Linked DNA regions of Homo sapiens: region 2 is linked to region 1. The links are contacts of gene promoters, found by promoter capture Hi-C in blood cells and fetal thymus (Javierre and others, 2016). All regions are on one chromosome and are shown on one strand. Each heading gives the region's core, a stretch centred on a gene start or on the middle of the fragment in contact. The rest is flanking DNA. Distances are from core to core; before and after follow the strand shown.

Region 1 (4,966 bases), core at 1,463-3,962:
GGCCTGTCTCTGCAGAACTATGAGGCTGGCAAAGTACAATGTTCTCTCTCCTACACTCCCCAAGCTTCTCTTTCCCTCCTCTCTGTTCTGCCTTCTCTTTCTCTCCTCTCCAAGGCCCTGAAAGCTTCTCAACAAGTCATTGATGTTAAGGATTAGTAACTGACATGAGACTATGAACCACAGTCATAAGTCTCTAATGGTGGGATATTAAGCATCAGATGGCTAGGTTTGGGGGAACAGGATGATATTTGGTGGGCAGGGGTTGTCCTGGTGCCCCTGAAGTCTTAAGTAGCTAGTCCCAATTCTGCCAGGGAGTAGGACTGGCCCAAAACTCAGAAGAAGATGACAGAGCAGGCATGTGCCAAGTGTCAGTGAGCCAGAAGGCTGTGTGGGGTGGGCCCAGGACACCAATGGCTCGGGGCAGAAGCTGGGGACAGAAGTGCCAGCTCCCTGCAGAGGCAGAGTTTGCTGGAGACTGGGTTACATCCTCCATCCTCACTTTTTGGGAATCCAAGCTCAATCTGTGAGCTACCCTGCTACTAAAATTCACACCTCTTCCCCCACCTCTAAGGATGGCATGAGGGATCCTAGCTACACAGCCACTTCCCTCAAGTCCAATGTCAGAGAGTCAAGCTGGGGGCTAGAGAAAGCAGAGGCCACAACACCAGCCCAGAACCACCTCCAGTAAAATGGACACTGTCATTCATTCATGACCTTACTTGATTCTCAAAACCCCCTGCCAGACCCATCTTACAGGTGAGGAGGCTGAGCCTCCAAGCATTCTGTAAGTTGGCCAGTGTCACACAGTCAGGAACCTAGCAGGGTTTGGAGCCGACGTTTTCCACAACAACCTAAGGCCAGTCTCTTCCAAACAAGCGTGAACAATTCAGCCAATCTCCCCCTGCACCAAGTCACAGAGCCCCAGCTGACAAGCCTGAGAATGGCTGAGCTCCCTCAAGTGTGCTGTTGGCTTGTGGGGCCTGGGGTGCAGCCAGCCAGGATGCTGGGGTTCTCACATCACCAACAGCCCCAGCCACAGCAGGGCCACCTCTATCTTCCGTTGAACTGGACTACCCAGCCCCTCAGCACATCCACTGCCTTCCACATGACAAGAGAGAGGAGGTTTGGGGGTGGGGAGGTCTCAGGCACAAGCACAGATTTCACCCTGTTAGGCACCCTGGGGACCTGGCCCTGAGATGAGGTGTCCCCCAGCTACCTCCAGGGGCTGCGTTAGCAGAGAAGTGAGGCAGATCTAGGGCTTCTCAGGCAGGCAGGAGACTTCGGCATGAGGGGCTGGCTACAGGGTCTGCAAAGAGGTGCCACCAACCTGCCACTGAGATGCCTGTGGTCCTGAGATACTCTGAATCCAGGACATCAGAGCCAATCAAGGTCCCACACCCACACCCAGGCAATCCTGGCTGTTAATTGATCAAGACTTCAGGTTTGTGGAAATGAGGGGAATGGGTGTGAGGTGGCTGGGAGGGGAAGCCCCATCTTGTGTTCCCCAGGATGGATGTGGAGCAGAAGCCAGCCTCGGTGACAGCTTGTATGTGACATCTGTCAAACTGAGACAGCTCCCACTTGGGGATCCTGTCCTGGGTCCTGCTCTAACCCAGTCACTGATAATCCAGTGCAAAGTGGGTGAATCCCTTCCTTTCTGGGAACAAGGGCTTCCTTAACCACCGGCGTGCCTGGCAGGTACCGGAGGCAGCCCCGGGGCAGCCCTGGAGAAGCTAGTCAGAATATGAGCTTCTTTCCTCCCCAGCCAGGCTCCCGGAATTATTTCTCAAATCATTTTCAGTCCTAGGAAGTGATAATTTGATTTCACTTTAACATTTTTAACGAGCTGCATCTTCATCAACTGCCAAATTAGGATGAGAGCAAAGATCGGGGAATCACAATGAGAGGTTTTGGAGTGATTGGGGAAATCCAAATTTGGGGTGTGCCTGGGTGGTTGACACCTCACGCCCAGCACCTGCGGTGGGGTCCCCATAGCACCACCCTGATCACCCCCGCGAGTCCATCTCTGCTCAGTGGCTCCTGGCAGGGACACCTCCTCCTATCAACCCTTCTCACAGGCGGGAGAAGGAAGCCCCGGGTCCCACGAGCTGGAGAAATGAGGCCACCCTGCAGGCTGTGATAAGCGGGGAGTTGGACCCGCATAGGCCGACAGCCCAGCTCAACAGGTGGTGGTGGGCTTATCCCTTCCTGCATTATCCGGATAATAATCTGCCAGCCCCATTCAAGTCCGTCGTGGAAAAGTCTGCCCTCAGCTTTGGCATGGGTAAATTGCCTAGAAGCGACTGCAAAGAGGGGGCGTCATCATCTCCCCCGATACATCCTTGGGACAGACAGATGGACAGACAGACACACGCACACGCGCATACACACGCCCGCGCTCCCCACCACACTGCCCCTTCCAGGGTGCGCGATCGCTAGGGCTCTCCAGCCCCTGCCCCTGGCTGGGCTGTCATGGGGGCGCAGCCCGGCGCCGCGGCCCAGCACCGGTGGGAGACCGTCCCCCAGGGACCCCCCCAGGATGGAAGAGGTGGTCTCTCCCGGTCTTCCCGGCTCTTACCTCGCTGGAGCGGCCGCGACCCCCGACCCTGGTCCAATGTCCCTCGCCGGCTGGGCGCGCGGGGCGGGAGGTACCGCGCTAGGCTGCCCGGGACGCCCGCCCCGTCCAGTCAGCCGGAACCGCTCGGCGCCAATGACCGTGGCCGCCGCCGCCGCAGCTCGCGCCCCGGACCCCGAGAGGGAGGGGCGGGCAGGGGGCGGGGCCGAGGGCGGGGCCTCCCCACCCCGGCGCTGCCAGCTGCAGGCGGGGTTTGGGACCGGTCAGATGCGGTCTCCCAGCCCGGGAGGTGAGCACCTCTGGGGTGAGCACCCTTGTGGGGGTGGCAGGTGAAGAGTTGGGGGCCGGCGTGGGAGAGGAGAGGCTTTCAGAGTCCGCATAGGGCTGGGAGACCCTGCCTGGAGTCAGACTCACCTTCAAATTCCAGCAGCTGGGGCTGCAGCCTCTGCCGTTGCTGCTGCTTTTAAATAAGGATGATGATGATGATGATGATGATGATGATGGTGATAGAACAACAATGCCAGCTAGTATTTATTGAGCACTTACTAGTGTAAGCGTTCAATGAGCTTCACATGTATTAAGTCATTTAATTCTCACACGAATCCCATTTTACAGATGAGAAGACTGAGGCACAGGGCGCTTAAGTGAGGAGTCTGAGGACACACAGCTGGAAAATGGCAGAGCCAGGACTGCAGCTCAGGCCTGTCTAAGTGCAGAATCTGAGCCTTTAAAGCCCCACTCTGCTTTTGTACTGTGTGGCCTTAAGCAAAGTGTTTGTCCCTCTTAACAGTAAAATGGTAATATATGTCCAATAAATGGTGGCAACTAACAATAAAACATTTCTTCCTTTCTTAGGTTCTATGTCTCCTTTAGTCTCTGGGTCCTGGACACCCAATAGGTGCTCAATAGATGTTTGTTAATCTATGACTAATTTGAAAGTGGCAGCTGGAGCCAGTGTGGTCAGCCAGGTTGGAAGGGGAACCCAAGGGCTAACTCTTCCTGGCCTGCATAGCCACATATCTTTTATTGCTTTGAAATGGCAGCCTGACCGATATCTTTGTCCGGCACACTTGTGCAGATGCTCACAGACCAGCAGCTTCCCCTCAAAGGCCTGTAAAATCCCTGCAGACCAAGAGGGGGTCAAAGATGTGGCATGTGGAAATATTTGGGGGCAAAGTTGGTTGCTAAATAATGAGACATCAGCAGTGAACATATTAGTTTAAAACTGTAGGGCAGAAACTTTTATAGAAGCATCTATGTTGCTGAGGTCTCCTGACATGGGAGGACTTTGTCACATGTGAATGGGGCCAGGTGGAGTTGGGACAACTGAAGGTTTTTGGAAAGGATACACCACGTGTCTATTCACAGCATTTTAGGCCTATGCAGTTTTCCGCTTTTTCTCCCTTTTCCCACCTACCCCAAGAGTGTTCTTCTCTATCCCCCAGAATACCCTGATGGAAATCCAAGAATGGATTTCTTCTTCTTCGTCTCTGGGCCCAGGAGCCTCTTGCACAGCTCTCACCAGTATGGCAATGATGAATTTACTGTCAATCTCCCTAACTATGCTGGGAGCCCCTTAAAAGGAGAAAGTCTGACGCATAGTAGGCACATTGTATTTGCTGAATGAATGACTGGAAGTTGGACACATCTCCCCAAGACTAAAGCTGTCAAGGAGAAAACCACCAAAGAAAACCTCAGAGGTGGCTGGATCAATGAAATGAAAAGATGAAAACGGGCAAAGCACCCAGGAGATGTGCCTTTTGCAAAGTCTGCAGGTCATTTTCCCAGCAAAGGCCAGAGAGGCTGGCCTGGGATCCATGCCCTGTGGGTCACCTCTGCGGGCCGTCGCCATGTCCTCCAGCCATTGAAGAGTAAGTGTATGGAGTGGGGGTGAGCAGACTGCCTGGTGTTGGGTGTGAGGAAAGGGGTGGGTGGAAGAGGGAATGTCCTCCCTTGTGGGTTAATTGAACAATCCCAGAATGTCCACTTGCCCCCTAGATAGGCCCCCTTTTTGATCTGTGTGACCCTATTCTCTGGATCATCTTGCAATGCTTATGGAGAAATAACAGATCAATTGGTTGCAGAAAACACCCTTCAAAAGGGAAGCTAGTGGCCGGGCGCGGTGGCTCATGCCTGTGATCCCAGCACTTAGGGAGGCCAAGGCAGGCAGATCATGAGGTCGGGAGATCAAGACCACCCTGGCTAACATGGTGAAACCCCATCTCTACTAAAAAACACACAAAAAAATTAGTCAGGCATGGTGGCAGGCGCCTGTAGTCCCAGCTACTCGGGAGGCTGAGGCAGGAGAATGGCATGAACCTGGGAGGCAGAGCTTGCAGTGAGCCGAGATTGCGCCACTGCACTCCAGCCTGGGTGACAGAGCAAGACTCC
Region 2 (4,944 bases), core at 1,160-3,659, 590 kb after region 1:
TTCGGTCTGGAAAGGCGGGACAACTTGAAGCAAAGGCAGGAAGACTCAAAGCAGAGAAGTTACATTCTTTTGAGTTTCTGATTAGTTTTTCCAAAGGAGGCAATCAGATATGCATCTATCTCAGTGAGCAGAGGGGTGACTTTGAATAGAATGGGGGGCAAGTTTGCCCTAAGCAGTTTCCAGCTTGAGGTTTCCTTAGTGATTTTGGGGGCTGAAGATATTTTACTTTCACAATATCATAAGACTGCTTCTTAAGATCCATGGTCCTCTCGAAGAGGCCAGTATGAATCAACATCGGTGGGTGTTCATACTCACTTTAAACTTAAAGATTTAGGCCAGGTGGGGTGGCTCAAGCCTGTAATCTCAGCACTTTGGGAGGCTGAGGCCGGCAGATTGCTTGAGGCCAGGAGTTCAAGACCAGCCTGGGCAACATGGCAAAACGCAGTTTCTACCAAAAAACAAAAGAAAACAAAACAAAACCCAAAATTAGTTGGGTGTGGTGACTTACACCTGTAGTCCCAGCTACTTGAGAGGCTGAGGATCACTTGAGTTTGGGAAGTTGAAGATACAGAGAGTGGAGATCATCCCACTGTATTCTAGCCTGGGTGACAGAGTGAGACCCTGTTTCAAAAATAAATATAAATAAATATATATAAAGATTTAAGCTTAAGGCCGGGCGCAGTGGCTCACACCTGTAATCCCAGAACTTTGGGAGGCCGAGGTGGGTGGATCACAAGGTCAGGAGTTTGAGACCAGCCTGACCAACATGGTGAAACCCCATCTCTACTAAAAATACAAAAATTAGCCAGGTGTGGTAGGGCATGCCTGTAATCCCAGCTACTCAGGAGGCTGAGGTAGGAGAATTGCTTTAATCTGGGAGGCGGAGGTTTGCAGTGAGCTGAGATCGTGTCACTGCACTCCAGCCTGGGCGACAGAGCAAGACTCCATCTGAAAAAAAAAAAAAAAAAAAGATTTAAGCTTAAAACAAAAAGCAATAGATGATATTTGTGGGAGACATTCATGCCTCTACTCTCTTAAAAAATAATGAATCATTCCCCAAGTCCTCATTTTACTTTCATATAATCTAGACCTATGGCAGCTAATAAACCTCTGTGGAGTTTGGGTGTTTCATGTTATAGCTATTGAGCAGAACTTTTCATATACAGTTTGTACAAGCAGCTGTCAAATCACTTAGAAGTACCATATCCCAAGCCACAGTTCGGTATCTTACTCCCAAGGATGCCAGTAGATAACTCATCAAATGCTTTACTAAAAGAGGGATATACATTGTAGCTAAAGTGTTGCCCTTTTCTACTAACCTAATAACAATGTCAAAAAACATAATTGGATTTAATTTGTTGAAACCTTCAAATGTTTTGAAGAGAGTTCATATTATTTTTCAGTCATCATTTCACATTCATCTACATACCCATAAACCATTTGTTTAACAATTCATACCATTGGGCTGTGGATTTATGTCAAACTTACTGAGGCTTGGCTGTCAGAATCTATTGCTTTTCCTTCTGTGTCTTCAGGCATCTTTGTGTTCATCGTTTTTGAAAATGTTTTTTTCTCCCATCATGAAATAATACAAACACATTACATAAAATTTGGAAGCAGAGAAAACAAGAAAAAAAAATCTCCTTCTAACTCAAATACTCAATATTTTGGTACACTAACTTCCAGCATTTTTTCTAGATATATTCTTTTTAAAAAAATTTTTAGGCCGGGCATGGTGGCTCACGCCTGTAATCCCAGCACTTTGGGAGGCTGAGTTGAGCGGATCACAAGGTCAAGAGATGGAGACCATCTGGCCAACATGGTGAAACCCCATCTCTACTAAAAATACAAAAATTAGCTGGGTGTGGTGGCACACACCTGTAGTCCCAGCTACTTGGGAGGCTGAGGCAGGAGAATCTCTTGAACTGGAGAGGCTGAGGTTGCAGTGAGCCGAGATTGCACCACTGCACTCCAGCCTGGCAACAGAGAGAGAGACCCCATCTCAAAAAAAAGAAAATCTTTATGTTAAGTTCCAGGGTACATGTGCAGAATGTGCAGGTTTGTGTATGTGGGTATATATTCTTAACAGTATCACAGTGTTGTACATGTATTTTTTTTAATTGAGACAGGTTTTAGCTCTGTTGCCCAGGCTGGAGTGCAGTTGTGTGATCTCAGCTGACTGCAACCTCTGCCTCTGAGTTCAAGTGATCCTCCTGCCTCAGCCTCCTGAGTAGCTAGGACTACAAGCGTGTGCCACCATGCGTGGCTAATTTTTGTATTTTTGGTAGAGATGGGGTTTCACTATGTTGCCCGGGATGGTTTCAAACTCTTGAGCTCAAATGATCTGTCAGCCTCAGCCTCCCAAAGGTCTGAGATTACAGGCATGAGCCACCTCACCCAGCCAATTGTACATGAATTTTAAAATACAATTTTCATTTTATTAGATTGTCCTCCTTACCATCCTATATTGTAAATATTGTTGATAGTGAACTTCCCAGGGTCACAATTACACGTTTTAACAACTTGGAATATGTTTTCCTGGGTTTCTAGCCCCTAAATTCATTTTGGACAGCTAGTTTCTTGTATTATTTTCTAGCTGGACTTTTATTCCATCTTCCTGATATACATTTTTATTTTTCAGTGTGAGTGTAATTTCTTTCTTTCTTTCTTTTTTTTTTTTTTTTTTGCTATATAGGTGTTTTAGTCTGTTCTTGGGTTGCTGTGAAGAAATATCTGAGACTAGAAAATTTACAGAGAAAACAGTTTTAATTGGCTTATGGTTCTGCAGGCTGTTTACACAGCCAGCATTTGCTGGGCTTCTGGAGAGGCCTCCAGGAAATTTTATTCATGGTAGAAGGTGAAGAGGGAGCAGGGAGCAAGAGAAGGAGCTGGGAGGAGGTGCCACACACTTAAACAACCAGATCTCATGAGGACTCAACTCACACGTGCCAAGGAAATGGTGCTACTCCATTCCTGAGAAATCTGCCCATAATCCATTCACCTCTCACCAGGTCACACCTTCAACCCTGGGAATTACACTTCAGCATGAGATTTGGGGGCACAAATATTCAAACTCTACCAATAAGTCAGAAGAAAACTAACAATTAAATAATCGGTCTCTCTCTTTGTCAGCTTTCAACCTTAGGTTTAGAAACTTCATCCTTGTAAATCGGAACAAAAATTGGGCTAACCTTTCAGGAAGGCAACTAGGCAGTATGTTTGAAGATTCTTAAATGTTTTACCCTTTGCTTAAGTAATTCCACATCTAGGACTCTATCCTAAGGAAACAATTTATTCAAAAATTTTATAAAAGGGCCGAGTGAGGTGGCTTATGCCTATAATCCCAGCACTTTGGGAGGCTGACGTGGGCGGATCACTTGAGGCCAGGAATCCGAGACCAGTCTGGCCAACATGGTGAAACCCTGCTTTTGTAAAAATACAAAAAATTAGCCAGGTATGGGTGGTGGGCACCTGTAATCCCAGTTACTTGGGAGGCTGAGACAGGAGAACAGCTTGAACCCAGGAGGCGGAAGTTGCAGTGAATAAGATAGCACCATTGCATCTGCACTCCAGCCTGGGTGACAGAGCAAGACTCTGTTTCAATGAAAAAAAATTTGTAAAAGAATCTTGGTTGCTCTGCCTATGGGGAAGCCATTCTTTTACTCCTTTACTTTCCTAATAAACTTACTTTCACTTAAAAAAAAAAAGAATCTTAACTGTACCTTTATTCATAATGGTGAAAGATAGCACCCAAATATCCCAAAGTAAAGAAATGGTCAAAATAGAGAGCATCTACATGATGTAAGATTGTGTAGACATTAAAGAAAAAAGCAAGCTTTGAAGACACAAATAATAATCTGGGAAAGTGCTCATGATATGAAAATAAAATATACAACAATATACCGAATATGATTCCAATTCTGATTATGACATATACAAATGCTGAAAAGAAATAACCCTAAATGGTGATATTATAGGATTTTTAGTCATTTCCTGTTTGTTTTCCAGATTGATTTAAATGATACTGTATTACTCTCATAATGAGAAAAGTATAATTCCATATGTACGAATCATCTTCCTTGTGAAATACAATAACTCTTCCTTCCTCTTTCCATCCTGACTTCTACACTTTATTGTCTTTGCATTTTTTCTGATCTTTATCACATCTTGGATTTAGTTTAGTCAGCTGAGCTCCTGACATTTTATGGACTTGGTTTATACTGTACTTCGTTTTTTTTTTTTTAATTTTTTTTGAGACAGAGTCTTACTCTGTCACCTAGGCTAGAGTGCAATGGCACTATTGCTGCTCATTGCAACCTCCACTTCCTGGGCTCAAGCGATTCTCGTGCCTCAGCCTCCTGAGTAGCTGGGATTACAGACGTGCACCACCATGCCTGGCTAATTTTTTTTTATTTTTAGTAGAGACGGGGTTTCTTCATGTTGACCAGGCTTGTTTCGAACTCCTGGTCTCATGTGATCCACCTGCCTCGGCCTCCCAAAGTGCTGGGATTACAGGCATGAGCCACCGTGCCCGGCCTCTATGCTGTACTTCGAATTCATCCCATGTAATATTCCCCTTCCTCCATCCTTTTTTTTTCTTTCCCAACCTGAGCTCATCAGAAAAACTTCCTGGGAAGTCATATTAGTTTCTCTGGCTGCCTCCTCATCTTCTGCACCAGATCGTCAGCAAATGCATTTCCAGAATCTTATTATCAAGCTCTCATCTGTTAAACCTCATTCCCTTTTAGGTTTTCTGGTGATGAGATCATCCCCATAATTTCTTTCTAATTCTCACAATATGTTTTTCTAAATAGTCCGTGACACTTGTGTGAAAGGTCTCAATGTTCTCTTCTTCTTTCTTTCGAGATGGAGTCTCACTCTGTCACCCAGGCTGGAATGTAGTGGTGCGATCTCAGCTCACTGCAACCTCCACCTCCCAGGTTC

Evidence for each region. Contacts are between HindIII fragments. The CHiCAGO score rates a contact against its expected background, and 5 or more counts as called.
Region 2: a contact is called between a fragment that was not itself captured here and the fragment with the promoter of CACNG5 in region 1, in 1 of 17 cell types (M1 macrophages). The highest score is 6.0, in M1 macrophages.

Annotation. Positions count from the first base shown.
Region 1 is chr17:66,832,863-66,837,828 of GRCh38, reverse strand. CACNG5 (calcium voltage-gated channel auxiliary subunit gamma 5) reads right to left here and starts at 2,712. Exons shown (of 6, transcript NM_145811.3): 1 at 2,579-2,712. The HindIII fragment of the contact is 6,143 bases long and covers 127-4,966 here.
Region 2 is chr17:66,239,972-66,244,915 of GRCh38, reverse strand. No RefSeq gene overlaps it. Among named protein-coding and RNA genes, the nearest start is that of APOH, 13 kb to the right of the region's middle. The HindIII fragment of the contact is 2,857 bases long and covers 981-3,837 here.